2 separate regions of the Homo sapiens genome follow, and region 1 is linked to region 2. Evidence: promoter capture Hi-C in human tissues and cell types (Jung and others, 2019). All regions are on one chromosome and are shown on one strand. Each heading gives the region's core, a stretch centred on a gene start or on the middle of the fragment in contact. The rest is flanking DNA. Distances are from core to core; before and after follow the strand shown. Region 1 has its middle 40 kb from the start of SNAPC3. Region 2 holds the start of CCDC171 (coiled-coil domain containing 171).

Region 1 (3,732 bases), core at 77-2,576, 170 kb after region 2:
TATTCATCATTTTAATTCTTTTTTTTTTTTTTTTGAGTTGGAGTTTTGCTCTTGTTGCCTAGGCTGGAGTGCAATGGTGTGATCTTGGCTCACTGCAACCTCCGCCTCCTGGGTTCAAGCAATTCTTCTGCCTCAGCCTCCTGAGTAGCTGGGATTACAGGCGCCTGCCACCATGCCCAGCTAATTTTTTGTATTTTTAGTAGAGACAGGGTTTCATCATATTGACCAGGCTGGTCTTGAACTTCTGACCTCAGGTGATCTACCCGCCTCGGGCTCCCAAAGTGCTGGGATTACAGGCTTCAACCACCACTCCCGGCCTCATCATTTTAATTCTAAAATGCTGCAATATTTCACAGCTACCATAGAGAACTAATACAACAGCTTGATGATTTTTTAAATATAGTATACGTCTGTCAACCCACCACCTGGGACACTGGATTGAAGGTGGGTGCCCTGTGGAGGTGGGTGGGAGCAGTGGGGTTGGCCACAGGCAGATTTCCCTGGTATCAGAGACCTCAATAGCAGACAGCTTTGACAGGAACCGGACCCAAACATGGAGAGAATAATAGATACTACTGAGGTTCCTAAAAATAACCAGGAAACTTTACAAGGAGATGGATGATGTTGGGAATGCAATCTGTTTTTCCAGGTTTGGGTGGGTGGGGTGCATGTATTAACTTTCTGCCTGGCCCCTAGACAACATGGTCCTTGAACCTAAGGACTATATCTTATACATGGTTATATTTCCAGTCTCTAAAACATTTCACGGCCCAGGATACTCACTAAATGTTTTTTGAATGACGAGCTACATTCTCTTGACATAGTCTCTTTTATCTACAAAATGAAGAGTTTTCTCCCATGTTGAAATGACGTTTATTTTGCCTTTTCTTTCTACGTCCCAGCTAGCACTTAATTCTAGACTTCCCTACCAACGTTAGCTAAAAAGTTTTCAGCTGTTGGCATCTCAGTTTCAATATAATCTTCACAACTTGGTCCTGATCTTTTTCATCCTGGTCTTACAGCGTTTTGTCATGTGCTCCTGCAATATTTAGGTCTTAGGACATGTTCTTGAATTACAAAAGCTCCGGGCTTGGTTCCTATAATGGCTTCTACCCCTAATCAACCCTGGGAATGCCTACTCACCCTGAGTTCCAAATAAAATATCACCTCTTTAGGTATAACTTCTCTGGTCCCCCAGGCAGAATTAGCCACCTCCTTGCTTATTTCCTCAAGTACTTTTTTCTTACTCTCATAGCCCTTAACTTGAGGTATCCTGATTTCTCTCTTAACATGTTCCTTCTGCATTGAAGGGAGGTCATCTCCTGAATAGGTTTATCTGGGTCCATATTTATTTACTTACTTATATATATTTTTGAGGCAGGGTCTTACTCTGTAGCCAAGGCTGGAGTGCCGTGGTTCGATCATAGCTCACTGCAGCCTTGGTCTCCTTGGCTTAAGGGATCCTCCCACCTCAGCCTCCTCCTGAGTAGCTGGAACCACAGGCATGCACCATCACACCTGGCTAATTTTTTTTTTTAATTAATTGTTTGTAGAGATGGGGGTCCCACTATGTTTCCCAGGCTGGTCTTGAACTCCTGGGCTCAGGCGATCCTCCCACCTCAGCCTCCCTAAGTGCTGAAATTACAGATGTGATCCACTGCACCTGGCCAGTCTGGGTCCTCATTGATGAGCATAGTGCATACCACATAGGGGGTGCTTATATTATTTATGGTTCTACAGAGAAACAGAACTATTAGGATTAATTTCAAGGAATTGGTTCATATCATTGTGGGGGATGGCAAGTCTGAAACTTGCAGGCTGGAAATTCTGGTATGAGCTAATATTGCAGCCTTGAGTTGAAAAATCTCAGGGAAGCCAGCAGCCTGGAAGGTCAGGTAGGATTTTTCTGTTGAGACAGAATTGCTTCTTCTTCAGGGAACCTCAGTCTTTGCCCTTGAAGCGTTCAACTGATGGGATGAAGCTTGATTGAAATAATCTGCTTAACTTAAAGTCAACTGATAGTAATTGTTATACCTTGGTCAAAAATACCTTGACGGCAACATGTAGACAAGCCTTTGACCAAACAACTGGGCACCATAGACTAGCCAAGAAGACACATAAACTGATCATCACAGTGCTTAATAAATGTTTGTTGCATAAATAAACGAATAGATTTATTCATTCAACACAATAAGTGTTACACAAGTTCAGAGAAAAGACCAGTGGGCTTTGACATGGATTTCTAGACTTACAATTTTCTTAACAAGTAATAGAATAATCATATTTTGTTCATTGAGCAGGATGCCATCAGAATGTCCTCCAAAAAACAGAGAGAGAGAATACACACATTTGCGAATTAAACAAATTTAGATACATGGACACATGAAGTATAACCATCCAATTACTTTTATTCTAGGTGGGGGAAATATGGCATTAATAAACTTTGATCAAAATTATTTTACTATTAATTGTTGTGGTACCAATGAAAACATTTTAAGAGGAAAATAAGAAGGCTTTGAAGTGGTTCTTTTTTTTTTTTAGATTCAGGGTCTTGGTCTGTCACCTAGGCAGTGGCAGGATCATAGCTCACTGTAGCCTGGGCTCAAGCGATCCTCCCACCTGAGCCTCCCAAGTAGCTAGGAATCTAGGTATGTACCACTGTGGCCAGCTAATTTTTTTAAACTCTTAGCCTCAAGCAATCCTTCTGCCTTGGCCTCCCAAAATGCTAGGATTATGTGAGCCACCATGACCCACCCCTGAAGTGGATCTTTATACAGATTAAAAATGGTTAATTCAGAATGTTCATTTCCAACTTTTGACTAAGTCATGAAGCCAACAAGGTGCTGGAAGGAGCAAGAAGGAGCAGGACTGAGGGCCAGTGGTTAAGGGGTTAACATGGTGAGAATGGGGCCTCCCTTTATAAATGGTGTTTCCCAGGCTGGACTGTTTCCTTCAAGTGGCTCAGGAGGCAATAGTGAAAAGATCTAGGGCTTTTTTAGGAGCCTCAGTTTCCTCATCTGTAAAATGGGCATACCAATAATGACAGATATGGACCATATGAAATTACAGATATTCAACCATTTTTTGGTTGACAGAAATGGCAATTTCATATGAAAAGGGTAAATGGGTAAGATTAGTGGAAGAGTAGATGGGATATAGGTACATTGTAGGGGATCAATCTTTATTAACAGGTTTAGGCTTGGGCTGGCGGCTGAGGTGATCTCTGGCCTGAAGAGCCAAAGGTAGCTCTGAGGCTTTTAATTCAGCTCCTGGAACAGGCAGACGGGACAGCGAGATCACCCCCAGCTCTGGGCTCTAGTCAGTTGAGCTGCTGCCTCTTTAGCAAGACCTTGGTTTTTTGTTTTTTTTTTTAACCAACAAATATTCTGGTTCAGTATTCTGGGTAAAAAGGATCCCAGGGTTGGCTGGGCGCAGTGGCTTATGCCTGTAATCCCAGCACTTTGGGAGGCCGTGGCAGGCAGATCACCTGAGGTCAGGGGTTTGAGACCAGCCTGGCCAACATGGTGAAACCCTGTCTCTACTAAAAATACAAAAAATTAGCCGGGTGTGGTGGCACATGCCTGTAATCCCAGCTACTTGGGAGGCTGAGGCAGGAGAATCACTTGAACCTGGGGGGCGGAGGTTGCAGCGAACTGAGATTGCGCCACTGCGCTCCAGCCTGGGCGACAGAGTGAGACTCTGTCTTAAAAAACAAAAACAAAAAAGAATCCC
Region 2 (3,807 bases), core at 154-2,653:
ATCTTTCCTCTTAGCAGGTTGCACTGCCTTTGTTTCCTCTGCATTTTATGAAAAACCATGTTCATCTTCTGCTCTACCACTGTTTTGTTGAGAGTAGGAACTAACAGTTAAATAAAATAAGTGACATGCCGGGCGCAGTGGCTCACGCCTGTAATCCCAGCACTTTGGGAGGCCGAGGCGGGCGGATCACGATGTCAGGAGATCGAGACCATCCTGGCTAACACAGTGAAACCCCGTCTCCACTAAAAATACAAAAAAATTAGCCGGGCGTGGCGGCGTGCGCCGGTTGTCCCGGCTGCTGGGGAGGCTGAGACAGGAGAATGGCGTGAACCCGGGAGGCGGAGCTTGCAGTGAGCCGAGATCGCGCCACTGCACTCCAGCCTGGGTGACAGAGCAAGACTCCATCTCAAAAAAAAAAAAAAGTGACAAAATCGTATGTTCTTTTCTCCAATATTATGAAAACCATAAAACATCGGTATGTCATGTATTCAAAAGAGCTGGACACCAACTCTAATAAACAAAATAAAGACGTATTTATCTCATTTACCTAAAATGTATACATGAAATATGTATTTTCTTAGGATCAATATCATAATGGAATAAAAAAATTCAAAAAGTCGGCTCCATTTCTGCAGAAAATTTACAGCTTCGGGAAAACGCACAGCTGACTCAGATTCTAAGTCTCTCAGAGTCCTGGAGGGTAGGTAGAAGCTGCAGGTGACAGTCTAGCACAACTCATTCCCGTTTATCAAACATCTGTAGAGTGTCTAGTGTGTGGCCGGCATTTAAAAAGGGGAGAGCGGGCTGAAAGACGTGGTCCCTATCCTCGAGGGGCTTACTGATTCTCGGGAACGAAAGCGCTCCGCAGCAGTAACCCTAAGAAGCTCCAAATCCCGGTCCTCTGCCTCCCCTCTGGTCCCCATCCGGCGCTCTGGTACAGCCTCAGCGATCTCTGGCTAGGATGCTCCACGGAGATCTTCCTCCAGGTGGGCGGGGAGACCCAGCCCAGGGAGCTGGAGGCGTGCCCCAAAGCCTACGCCAACAGCCCCAGGGCCGCCCCAAACTCACTCAGGGGCCCCTACAACCCTCTCAACACCTCCCTCCCAAGTCGTCCGCCTCGAAGCCCCCACACCGTGCGGTTACCTCAGGGGTCTCGCGTGATCCGTGCTGCACACCCAAGACCCCAGGGGCCGCTCCAAGTCTCACGGGTGAAAGGAGGCCCAGGCAGCCCACGGGAATAAGAGCAAAAACTGTTGGAACACGACGGACTCCAGGACCCGGGAGGAGGGGGACAAACAGCAAAGGGGTACAGAAGGGGAAGAGCCCCCGGGAGGTGAAGTTTACAACTGCCACTTCCGGAGCTGAAAACACTCCGCTTCTCTCGCAGACCTTCCCAGACTTTCACAGGTCAGCCCAACTCAGGCCCGGCCCCACTTTTTCCTCCCGCCTCCCGCAGCCCTCAGCTTGCAGCTCCTGGATACGTACTCCGAGAACGCTGGCTCGGATTGGAAGAGCCCGCCCGCCAAGCAGCGCGCCTTCGCTGAGGGACGAACGGGCGCATGCGCCGTTGCTGGGGAGCGGCGGGCTCGCGACCGCACGCGCTCTCGCTCCAGGAGCTCCGCGTCCCCGCGCGGGGGTGCGCCCTGCCCACGCGCTGCTGTGGCTTTTCAGCGTGAGGTGTCCGCGTTCCTGTCTCAGTCGCCAGAGCCGAGTGGAAATGCAGATTTCCAGCTTCTAACCCCTTTTCCCTGCCTGCTGAATAAAAACCTAAGAGGTCGGATCCCAGATCCTGCTTTTTGAAACTGGTTCTTCTGCCCATCTTTAGAGCCACAGCAACGGTGGGCTGGTCCCGGGGCCTGGGGAGAAATTCTCTGGGCTCGGGTTCTGCCCAACTGCCTGGTTTACCTCTGTCTGGACAGCTCTCTGCCTGCACAGGGCATCCTGTCCCCTCTTCCCGTCCCCATTGTATCCCAGCTGGGAGTGGTGAGCAGGGTCGGAAGAATGCATTGATGCTGCTTGCAGTGCGTTTCATTATCAACATTACGTAACCAGGCACATCGTGGAAAACGCCTCGGAGCCTTAGCATGTGTGTTCCCTATCTCTTTCCTCGCTTCTCTCACTTTTCTCTGACACACACACACACACACACACACACACACACACACACACACACACCGTCCTCTTATTGATAATTTATACTTTGGTTCCTCCCGGTGGCTGCTTCACAATCTGCTGCCGCCTAAGGGAGACTGGAAAACCAACTCCTCTTTTGTTCCTTAACTTTTGAAAGCCTATTCTTCCAGAGAACAATGCAAATTGACAGGATTTGGTCAAAGATTTTTATCTTCACCACCACCACCTCCTCTGCACAAAAAGGTGTTTAATGCAAAACGAGCCTTCTATACTAAACTGGGTCCTTGTTGATTGTAATCAACCTGAAACCAGGTGTAGGGGCCGTCTTTTCTCTCTCCCATGGGAGAGCCAACGGTCATAAATGCAAACACAAATTGAGATTAAAACCTCCTTGATTCTTGTAGCACTGAAACCTTAATTGGTTTGATTTTAGTCATTTACATCTAAAACGGAGGCCTGTCCCTGATTCTTTTTACTAGAGCCATAAAGAGGACAATTGCTCCAGAGGAAATAAAGGGAAAAAATAGCCCACTCTAAAGTTTAGAAATGAAATGGAAAATTACAACTGACTAATGAGATTAGAACTTTTATGTTACAAGCTTTAAAAAATATTTTTAAATTTTATTTTTTTCTTTTTCTTTTTTTTTTTTTTTTTTTTGAAACAGGGTTGTTCTCTGTTGCCCAGGCTAGAGTACAGCGGCACAATCACGCCTCGCTGCAGCCTAGACCTTCAGGACTCAAGCCATCCTCCTGCCTCAGCCTCCTGAGTAGCTGGAACTACTTAAAATTTCATTTGTGTTGGCCGGGCGCGGTGGCTCACGTCTGTAATCCCAGCACTTTGGGAGGCCGAGGTGGGCGGATCATGAGGTCAGGGGACCGAGACCATCCTGGCTGACACGGTGAAACCCTGTCTCTACTAAAAATACAAAAAAAATTAGCTGGGCGTGGTGGCGGGCGCCTGTAGTCCCAGCTACTCGGGAGGCTGAGGCAGGAGAATGGCGTGAACCCGGGTGGTGGAGCTTGCAGTGAGCCGAGATTGCGTCACTGCACTCCAGCCTGGGCGACAGAGCGCGACTCCGTCTCAAAAAAAAAAAAAAAAAAATTATTTGTGTTTTAACAAAGTCACAAAAGTGAATATTGTATCGCAAGAATAAATGCTATGTACTATATTGTATGTTTTTGAAATGAAAAATGGATGTGATGTGAAGACCCGTTTTCATTTATTTGTTCATTCAGCATTTACAGAATACAGACTATGTACCCAACATGGAGCTAGATGATAGAAATACAGGGGAATATTGATATCAACCCTGAGCTCCCAGAAATGATTCATAGAAAAGAACTTTGAGCTTAGTTTAAGAAGACCGTTAAAGATTTATGAAGCTAACAAGGAACTAGAAGGAAGACACGGAAGCTGCAAACACCAGCATAAGAACCAGCACCAGACATTTGAAAAGCTGGAAAAAGCTGTCTGTGCAAAGGAGGTGTGAGCGATGAGGCTAGAGAAATATGCAGAACCCAGATCACAGAGGAATTTCTACATCATACTTAGGAGTTTATCAAGCAATGAAGCTAATGAAGGGTTTTAAGCAGAAAAAATATAAAAATTACACAATAAATCAGACCATTTCAAAATGCGTGGAGATTCTCTGTTGTCTTTTATTTGCTTAACAT

Evidence for each region. Contacts are between HindIII fragments. The study calls those that stand out against the background at their distance.
Region 1: a fragment that was not itself captured here is called in contact with the fragment with the promoter of CCDC171 in region 2 in 1 of the 25 tissues and cell types used here (heart left ventricle).

Annotation. Positions count from the first base shown.
Region 1 is chr9:15,380,973-15,384,704 of GRCh38, reverse strand. No RefSeq gene overlaps it. Among named protein-coding and RNA genes, the nearest start is that of SNAPC3, 40 kb to the left of the region's middle. The HindIII fragment of the contact is 9,430 bases long and covers 1-3,732 here.
Region 2 is chr9:15,550,639-15,554,445 of GRCh38, reverse strand. CCDC171 (coiled-coil domain containing 171) reads right to left here and starts at 1,403. Exons shown (of 26, transcript NM_173550.4): 1 at 1,144-1,403. RefSeq lists enhancers at 1,096-1,265, 1,161-1,806 and silencers at 1,546-1,635, 1,646-1,705. The HindIII fragment of the contact is 9,052 bases long and covers 1-3,807 here.